2 separate regions of the Homo sapiens genome follow, and region 1 is linked to region 2. The links are contacts of gene promoters, found by promoter capture Hi-C in blood cells and fetal thymus (Javierre and others, 2016). All regions are on one chromosome and are shown on one strand. Each heading gives the region's core, a stretch centred on a gene start or on the middle of the fragment in contact. The rest is flanking DNA. Distances are from core to core; before and after follow the strand shown.

The links. The method cuts DNA at HindIII sites, captures the fragments that hold promoters and counts their contacts. A CHiCAGO score of 5 or more calls a contact.
Region 1: a contact is called between a fragment that was not itself captured here and the fragment with the promoter of RPA4 in region 2, in 1 of 17 cell types (neutrophils). The highest score is 5.9, in neutrophils.

The regions. Positions count from the first base shown.
Region 1 is chrX:97,431,251-97,436,397 of GRCh38, reverse strand. The region is part of intron 26 of DIAPH2 (diaphanous related formin 2); the gene reads right to left. Among named protein-coding and RNA genes, the nearest start is that of DIAPH2-AS1, 130 kb to the left of the region's middle. The HindIII fragment of the contact is 2,091 bases long and covers 665-2,755 here.
Region 2 is chrX:96,882,455-96,887,495 of GRCh38, reverse strand. RPA4 (replication protein A4) reads right to left here and starts at 3,588. Exons shown (of 1, transcript NM_013347.4): 1 at 2,029-3,588. The coding sequence starts at 3,185. The coding sequence ends at 2,400. All of the region lies in intron 5 of DIAPH2 (diaphanous related formin 2), which reads right to left. The HindIII fragment of the contact is 5,808 bases long and covers 996-5,041 here.

The DNA of each region.
Region 1 (5,147 bases), core at 461-2,960, 550 kb before region 2:
GTGTGGTTCTAAAACCAAAATACATTTATTGTTTCCTGGTTTCATTTCTTCATAATGCTTCTCTTGTGTGTTTTTTTAATGTCTAGAACTATATATCAAAATCCAGTCATAGCCAAAATGCTAAGTTAGATATCCACCTATTGCTGAGAAGCCCATTTATATTTACTTACAGTGGGCAAAGAATAAAAAAGTCGGGTTGGTTGAAGAAAGAGAAGCAAGCTCTAAGTATCTATAGCTATTTGGCAATAAAACAGATGTGGAGTTGTGTATTTGTATTTTAAGAGTGGTTTTCTGGCTGGGCACGGTGGCTCACGCCTGTAATCCCAGCACTTTTGGAGGCCAAGGAGGGTGGATCACGAGGTCAGGAGATTGAGACCATCCTGGCTAACACGGTGAAACCCCGCCTCTACTAAAAATACAAAAATTAGCCGGGCGTGGTGGCAGGCCCTGTAGTCCCAGCTACTTGGGAGGCTGAGGCAAGAGAATGGCATGAACCCGAGAGGCGGAGCTTGCAGTGAGCCAAGATCGCGCCACCGCACTCCAGCCTGGGCAACAGAGTGAGAGTCCATCTCAAAAAAAAAAAAAAGGAAAAAAAGAAAAAAAAAAAGAGTCATTTTCACTCCTGCAAGGTGTCTCTCTATGTGCTTCTTTTTCCTCCAAAGCTTATCTTTGATCTTACAATTACACAGCCAGGGCAATTCTTTACAAAGTAGATGGTAAATGTATGCAACTTATTATCTTATGTGGTAACAAAGGCTGTAACAACACAGGATCAAGAAAGATTTAGCAAAATTCAGAGAAGATAAATCCATACTAGGTTGTGAAGGAAAAATGAGATGTACCTTTCACCCACCAAACTGCTAGAAAGAATAGCCCATATTATACAGACACAAAGGAGAGAGGTGGGGGGTTGGGAGTGGTTACTCTAACTCCTATGCTGCACAGGCTTACTGTTCCTATCTCTATTACAGCATATAGAAGACCGCATTGTAAATTGATCACATGGTTTATATTCGTGTTTTCCCAAACAGTATGTGAGCTCCTCTAGGCTCCCGTTTGATTTTGTATCCTCAGTACCTAACTCAGTATAATGCACCGAGGAGGCATTCAATAAGACTGCTCAACTGTTGAATGAATATGATCTTTCCCTATAGCCTCACCATCTACTCTGCATAGCTCTGTATTCTCTTCCCAGTTCCATCACAATATTGAAAGGATGCTCTTCAAAAAGTCATTAGAAAGCTCCCAAATAGCAAATCATCGGTTTTTTACCCTTTTTTATTCCACCAGAGCGTATGTCATTGTCAAAAATGTTCACCTCTCCTCCCTTCTTAGGACTTCCCTCTTCCTTTGTTTCTAGGACAATAATGTCTGGATTCTCCTACCTGCCCAATTGCTCCTTGTCTATCTTCTTTTAGCCCCTTAGTGAAGGTGTTTCCAAGTCTCTGTCTTTGGTTTTCTTTTCTCTTAAAAATCCCTATAACAATCCCTTCCCCTATCCACACTATATCCAGAACACTCAAGAATTCATTTTGTCATGAAATCTGTAACTATATTTCCAAAAATCTTCTGGACATCTTGACCTCAGTGTTCTGCTATCACTTTCAGTTTAACTTATCCAAAACTGAATTTACCTTCTTCTACTATCACCACTCCTTTTCTTGATCTTAATAGTTTAGTAACCTTACGGCTGGGTGCGGTAGCTCACACCTGTAGTCCCAGCACTTTGGGAGGCCAAGGCGGGCGGATCATGAGGTCAGGAGATTGAGACCATCCTGGCCAATATGATGAAACCTCGTCTCTACTAAAAATTAAAAAAAAATTAGCTGGGTGCGGTGGCGTGTGCCTGTAATCCCAGCTACTCAGGAGGCTGAGGCATGAGAATTGCTTGAACCTGGGAGGCGGAGGTTGCAGTGAGCGGAGATCGCACCACTGCACTTCAGCCTGGGGACAGAGTGAGACTCCTTCTCAAAAAAAAAAAAAAAAAAGTTTAGTAACCCAAATGTCTTCTTAGCCAGTCATACTCAAAGCCATAGGGTTATCTTTGCCTCTTGACTACTCCTCTCACGCTAAATTATCTCTAAATAAGAATATGACAATAGACTCCTAATTGATTACTTATACTCCTTTAAATATTCTAATGCGTAACTTGTGTTCCTCCACTGCTTAAAAGCCTTCAATAAATCCCCATTGCTTAGAGAATTGTAAGTTAACACCTTAGTCTCTCATTCAAGCACTCCCTGATATGGAGCAAACCTAATTTTCCAGAATTACCCCTATACTTCTATGCTATATATATCCTATTTTCTTACTGTACTGTTTGCCATTGTTGAAAAATGCTTTGAACTTTCTTGCCTCTGTTTTTCTTAATGACATTTCTTTTGACTAAAATGCCCACTATCCCTAACTCCAGCTCTCACTGTTGGAATCCCTACTCATCCTTCAGTCTTTTCCTCCATTATTATTTTTCTGATATATCTGATAATGCATGCAAGTCCCATTCTCTGAAGTCACACAGTATGTTATTAACACCTCTTGTATGATACTTATTATCTTCTGCCTTATTCTGTAGTCTTTCTGTGCTTTTTATCGTTCCTATAATACACAGGGTCTTATAACTAAGGAAATCTTATCTTAATTATTTCTACATCTTCCCTCATCATGTACAGCATAGTACCTTTTACACAGCAGATGTACAATAAATGAATATTTAGGGGCTCATTTCCTAATCTCTGATTTTGACATCAGCAAAGCTTGTGATCTGGGTTAATATTCAGCTAGTATGCACCAGTACAACCAGAGTCGTTATTTATCACCTGTGTACATTTCGACTATCTGGGGCCTGTGATACACCAGTTAATATTTTCTTTTTTTCTTTTTTTGAGTCAGGGTCTGGCTCTGTCATCCAGGCTGGAGTGCAGTGGCACGATCTCTACTCATTGCAACGTCTGCCTACCGTGCTCAAGCAATCCTCTCACCTCAGCCACCTGAGTAGCTGGGACTACAGGCACATGCCACCATGCTTGGCTAATTTTTTTTTGTATTTTTTTGTAGAGATGGGGTTTTGCTATGTTGTCCAGGCTGTCCTCAAACTCCTGAGCTCAAATGATCCTCTCACCTCAGCCTCCCAAAGTGCTGGGATTATAGGGATGAGCCACCACGCCCAGCCTTTTTGTTTTTTATTAAAAAAAAATATTTTCAATTATCACTACTGATATGATAGTCTACCTTGAAATGCCTTTTGGTACTTAACTGAAACAGCACATCCGCTGAATGGGCTGGAGGCAATATGTGGAAGCTCCTTCTGAGTTACTAAATATGGTAGGTCTTGGGTAGGGGGCACAGGCTCAGAGTGGGCGATTTATAATTTAGGCAACTAATCATATCATTTATTAACATTTTGATTTTCTAATGAAGAATACAGACTATCACCTCATCTTGTTTACATATAAAATTTAAAACATTACAATTAGATGGCCGGGCACAGTGGCTCACACCTCTACTCCCAGCAATTTGGGAGGCCCAAGTGGGTAGATCACCTGAGGTCAGGAGTTCGAGACCAGCCTGGGCAATAGGGCAAAACACAGTCTCTACTAAAAATACAACAATTTGGCCGGGCATGGTGGCTCACGCCTGTAATCCCAGCACTTTGGGAGGCCGAGGTGGGCGGATCACCTGAGGTCAGGAGTTTGAGGCCAGCCTGGCCAACCTGGCGAAATACCATCTCTACTAAAAATACAAAAACTAGCTGGACGTGGTGGCGGGCACCTGTAGTCCCAGATACTCGGGAGGCTGAGTCAGCAGAATCACTTGAACCTGGGAGGTAGAGGCTGCAGTGAGCCAAGATCATGCCACTGTACTGCAGCCTGGGCAACAGAGCAAGACTCTATCTCAAAATATAAAAATAAAAATAAAAATAAAATAAAAATACAACAATTAGCTGGGCATGGTGGTATGTCCCTGTAATCCCAGATACTGGAGAGGCTGAGGCACGAGAATCTCTTGAACCCAGGAGGTGGAGGTTGCAGTGGGCCGAGATCGCACCACTGTACTCCAGCCTGGGCAACAGGGCAAGAGTCCGTCTCAAAAAAATAATAATAAATAAAAAATAAATAAAAAGATTACAATTAGAAACACAATGGTAGAGCTCTGTATTTTACATAACAGTAATACCCATCTATAAGCGATGGTAATGAAAATGGCAAGCAGAGCAGTAAGTACATCTCCGCTGATTGTGGTTGACTCTGATTTTAGTGTTTTTTGGATTTTCCTTTTATTTTACTTTACTTGGGGGAAGATAGCCTTCTTTATAATTAGCCTTTTCTGCTTTTATCTCATCATGCTGAAGTGGAGGTTGTTGGAAAAGATCAAGAATGTCAATGTTGAACAGGGAAAGTATAACAATACCAAGTCAATGGGATCTTGGAAAGGAAACAAATCAGGTGCCTAAGAAAGTAAAAATAACGGGACTAGCAGGAAAAGATGATCTAGCTAGGAAGGGCTGAGGCAAGGAGGAAATCTGTAAAAGTCCCCGGTTCTGCTTCTTCCAGAAAGAGGCAGACAGAGTTTTTTGGCAGACTTGTAAACTCTGTGCCTTCTGTCCCCACTCCCTCACTTCCAGCTCTTCTACTGATGACCAAGGTGCTTCCCAACCACTGCCACTGTCTGCATTCGAGTTTCGTTTTACCTCTGGACATTTGCTTTGGCTGCTGCCACTTGGAATGACTGCCACAGCTAAATCGAGTGATATTTTTAACCCTATGTGTTCATGGAGGCACTCCAGCTACAAACCAAAGGAAATCCCAATTTAGATTACTTGGAATCAGTACTATAAAATTATGCAGTTTGTGAATATATTCTTGGTGTTTCACAGTTGACAACACTATATTCCCTTGAGTACCAAACTCACAGAAACCCCATGGAATGATCTCTCTCTCCAAGTACAGTTTTTCTGGAATCAGTATGAGGTGTGAGACTAATCAGACAAGGGCTTTAGCAAATGTGCATTTTTAAAATAAACAGCCTAGAAAAATTATGGCAGTTCTTTTATGGCCCAGAATAACATGTTTTCACTTATCAGCTGCTTAACAGAGAAATGAATTGATACAAAAATGATTTCAGTTCACCTTTCACTGACTACTATTGCT
Region 2 (5,041 bases), core at 2,339-4,838:
ACCTTGGGTGGATTATAATCATCAATTATGTTTTTCAGGTTCCTCAGGCTTAAATGTCCCTGCCCAAAATAGTCAATAGTATGTCCCCAGGATTTGTATCTTATCCTCAAAAGGTGTGGCTAACTATCAGGGCAGGACCTTGGAGAAAGGGGATATTAGCCAAGTCATTCCCAGTCTAAACAAAATTGAAAAAGTATGCATGCCAGGTGGGTGTTCAAAATGAACTTTAAAAATCTGCTACCTTTAACATGGACTAAATATACATGTATAAAACAATCCAGTGATTTTCTGCCTAAAAGTGTTTTATTTCCACTGACATTATATCTAGACCTACTTACTATTTTTCCACTGCTATCTCTTACCTGCAGCAGAATCCACTAAAGCACACGATTCCATTCAGAAGAATAAGCGTTGGGAGGAGTAATTTTAAAAGCCTAAAAAAACCCCAACGAACACAGATAGAGGACATTTCCCCTCACAGGATGGGAGAGAGGTTGGTCTTCTGCCTTAAATTCAGGTGTACATATCTCAGTGTATCAGTTTGCAGGGACAAAAGCAGTTTGGCCTCCCAAACAAAAAAAAAAGAGTTTTTTTCCCCCTCCGCATGCTCCTAGTATAGGAAAAACAAGTGGCTACGCATCCACTGGCCAGCTGAATCAGCTCAAGCAATTATGGGAGTGACCTATAATTATACTCATAAATATCAGATTTTAATGTCACAAAAGAATATTGTATCTGCTAGACTCTTTCAGCTCCACAATTCCAAGTATATATGCCCCTTGTTGCCTCTCCCCCAGTATGATTTTCCCTAGGACAGGTAACCTTTTTCAACAAAAAGTGGTTCCGAATATTTTAGGTTTATGAAGACCAGAATTTTCAAAATGTCTGATAATTTAAGTAACAGGTTTATAGTATGTTATTCATCTGTGCTTTTCAAGAGTGCCATTTACAATTTCTTTACTTTCAAGGGGAAGAAAAATATGCATCACAAAGCTTAAGCAAGAATTAGTGGTTTTTCTAATGGCCACTGACACAGGCCATTTTCTGAAAGTTTTCCTGAAAGTACGGAGTACTGGCAATGTTCCATTTAAGAGATTTTTTTTTTGTTGCAGTTTTCATGATTCAATTTGACAAATAATGTTCTTCTATTTGTATATTATATATGAATATACATATATAAAATATAACATATATTCATTAAAAAGTATATGTTTTTTATTTCCTCTAATGTAAAAAAATTAGCATCTTGAAAGACACCATCTTTAGTGTATAGGTAACTGAGGGCTTTCGTTAATGGTCAATTATTTAAAAGTCTCACATAATTTATATAATCTACACTAAAATGTATTGTTAGAACTAGGCTATAGCATATGTTCTGGGTATTTTATATATAGAAAAGAAAAAATTCTGGATAAGTGAAACTATTAATCCTCAAGGATATAAAACAAAAAGGCTTTTTCAAATGTACTTAGAAAAAAAAATCACACAGGAAAGTTAAGATTTTGTAAACTACTTTAATAAAACATTTGAATAAATTTGTGTTAAACTCAGTAAGTTTCATATTCCTATGAGCTGTTTCCCTAACGTCCTAAAAATTACCTTTTTATACATAAAACAGAGCATTTAGTAAAATAAATAATACACCAGCACATCAAACTTACAGAAACTCTGGCATCCATTTACCATACAACTACAATAAATTGTAATTTCATCCAAATACCACATCATATATGAAATAATCATTGAACTTCACCACATTTTAAAAAATTTCAAAGATAACCTGGCAAAAATGGTTTATTTAAACACAGTATAATCTTATTTTAAGAAAACATAAATTCATAGTAATAAGAGCAAATCACACATAAATGTTTGAACTGAGCATTAGAATTCACAAATTAGTATCTTCAGCTCATTTGAATTAATCAAATACTAAATACTATATTGAGCAAGAGATAACAGTATCATTATAATAAGCTAAATCCAAACACGGAAAATAAGTCTAACATAAAAACAAGCAAGACTTTTTTTTTTTTTTTTTTTTTTTTTGTCTTTTCGCTGGCTCCCTGACTGCAACTAGTTTTTCTTTTGGAAAAAGAAGCTCCAACACAATTAAATAATAAATTTCTACATTTTCTGTAGTTTTTCTTCCCCGAAAATCATGTTTCCATTAGCTTGCTAGTAAATCCTACAGAGTTGTCAATTTATCCATCACCGTCTCTCTCTGAGCTTCAAATACAGAAAATCCGAAAAGTTCAAAGCAGTTAGAAAAGCAGCGAGTTGACAAAGAATGCCACTTGAGATTTTTTTTTTTAGTCCTACTTCCTAAAAAGTCAACAGGTCAAAATTACTCACAGCTGGATGCAAGGGTCTTCGAAAAATGAAAGGATGTTTTCCCTGCCTCAATCAGCAGACTTAAAATGCTCCCGATCCACAGTGGGATAGATGTGGCCCTCAACGGTCAGATAATCAATCGCTTCCTTGATGGCCTTGACGCTAAGGTCGCAGAGCTGAGCCCGGAGCTCATGGATGCTCTTCCCTTCCTGATGAGGACACTCATGAATCAAACGCAGCACTTCGTCCTGGATGAAATTGCGGTGACTCTCATCGTTATCCCCAGCATCATTCACTTCTGATGGAGACACAGGCACACTTTCTACAGTGGTATCACGACGGGCTTTATCCAGCATCATGTGTGCATTGACCGTTTCCAGAATATGCACGGTGAACTCGTTCATGTCCTCTAGGACATGAATTTTCAATACCTCAAGGCTCTTTGTTCCCGTGGGACATTTGAGGATACCAAACACTTTGACATATACTCCGACTGACAATGGAGTCACCTGCTTGACTTTCTCTCTACCAAACCACTGTCGGGCCTCGATTGGTTTCGCGGTCATATCATCAATTTTGTAACAAATGTGATTTGAAGCCTTCTCTGCCCCTCTGATTACCCCCACGATGGAGACCTGGGAAACTATAATTCCCCTAACCTTGAACACAGGGTCAAACACAGTAGAGCTGAGAAGCTGGTTCACATTACACGGTACAACGTCCTGAATTCGGACCTTAGGTCTTTGGGTCTTAATAGCAGGAGTTGCATCTCTCTCACACAGTTGGTCACTGCCTCCACTCGCTCCATCAGCAGCAGAAATGCTGCCATAGCTCCCAAACCCACTCTTACTCATCTTCAAGACAGCTCAGGCTGAGGAGAAGGTGGGCTTTGGCTCGTCTGGGGCTCCACGGACGGCTTTGAGTTCTCCACAGAAGGCTTCGAGCTCTCCACAGAAGGCTTCGAGCTGTCCGAAAGGCTACGATTGAATGCTGGGAGGCTGAGGACGTGACAAGCGTCACGCTACCTGTGGACCAATCAACTACCAGAATGCATCTGCTTCCAGCCAGTCAGGGTCGGCCACCTTCTCACCTGATCGCATAATCCTTCCCTGTGTGTCAGTGGTTGCTACATTCTAAAAGTCCCACACGAGGGGAGCCCTGTTGCTTAGCTGGTCAAAGCGCCTATCTATTAAAAGTCCCACGTGTAATTTCAAGCAAGCCTTTCCCAACATCTCTATAAAAATGCATTTTTACTAGCCCCCCTCTTTATTTCTTAATGCTGCAACTTCTACAATTACTTTTAAAAGACTCATTTATTCATTCATTCAAACAACAATGCAACAGAAATTTTAGGAGCACAAAGTGCTTGGCAAAACGGTAGAGTGCTGTACGTTACGTGCAGGGGGGAAAAATGCACCACCGTAGTTACTGTTCTCAAGAACTCACGTCCCCTGTTCATTCAAACCATTAAAACTAGGAGCATCAGGCCGGGCGCAGTGGCTCACGCCTGTAATCCCAGAACTTTGGGAGGCTGAGGCAGGTTGATTACTTGAGGTCAGGAGTTCGAGACTAGCCTGCCAACGTGGTGAAATCCCGTCTCTACTAAAAATACTAAAATTAGCCAGGCGTGGTGGTGCAGGCTTGTAATCCCAGCTACTCGGGAGGCTGAGGCAGGAGAATCGCTTGAACCCAGGAGGCAGAGGTTGCAGTGAACCGAGACAGCACCACTGCACTCCAGCCTCGGTGACAAGAACAAAACTCCGTCTCAAAAAAAAAAACAAAAAACAAAAAACAAAAAACCTAGGAGCATTTTGGAAGAAATGGCAAGACAATCGTCTTTCAACGATTATCATACTCTAAGATAAGTCACATCTTAACACTGGCTTTTAAAAAATTTTTTGTTGTTTTAAAATTGTAATTTTCTGGGCATTTTGCCAAGTGCACTATAAATAAGTAATTAATATATTTCAATTTATACATAAATCCAAACTGAATGACTGAGCTCTAAATTATTTTCAAGGCTCTGTGGACAGGACAGAAAAGTACAAGACTTAGACCTATTATATATTAGGAAAAACATGGATAAAATCACAGTAAGTTTTTTATATACTCTTATGGAGTAAATTCTGAACTTAAGATTCTAGTAGTTACATAAATAGATCCCGGATTTTTGTTTTTTTGTTTTTTTTTTTTTTTTTTTTTTTTGGAGACAGGGTCTCGCTCTGTCTCCCAGGTTGGAGTGCAGTGGCGGGATATGGGCTCACTGCAACCTCCACCTCCCGGGCTGAGGTGATCCTCCCACCTCAGCCTCGTGAATACCTGGGACCACAGGCGCACATCACCACACCTGGCTGACTTTTTTGTATTTTTGGTAGAGACGGGGTTTCACCATGTTGGCCAGGCTGGTCTCGAACTCCTGGACTCAAGCGATCCACTTGCCTCAGCCCCCTGAAGTGCAGGGATTATAGGTGTGAGCCCCCACGCCCGGCCAAGAATGTTTTGATATTTTATTGAAATTTTATTTTTCTTTATAAAACATTTTATTTTGGGTGTTATTGATTTAAAGGCTTAATAAAGGAACCACAGTTACTGGAATCCACCATTGGCAAGTAACCTAATAACAATCCTTTGTAGTTAGTTAATAGCCTAAATTAGTAGAGTTTTGAGAAGTTTATTAATGCTCTCACTTCTTTTACTGGTTAAAATAATT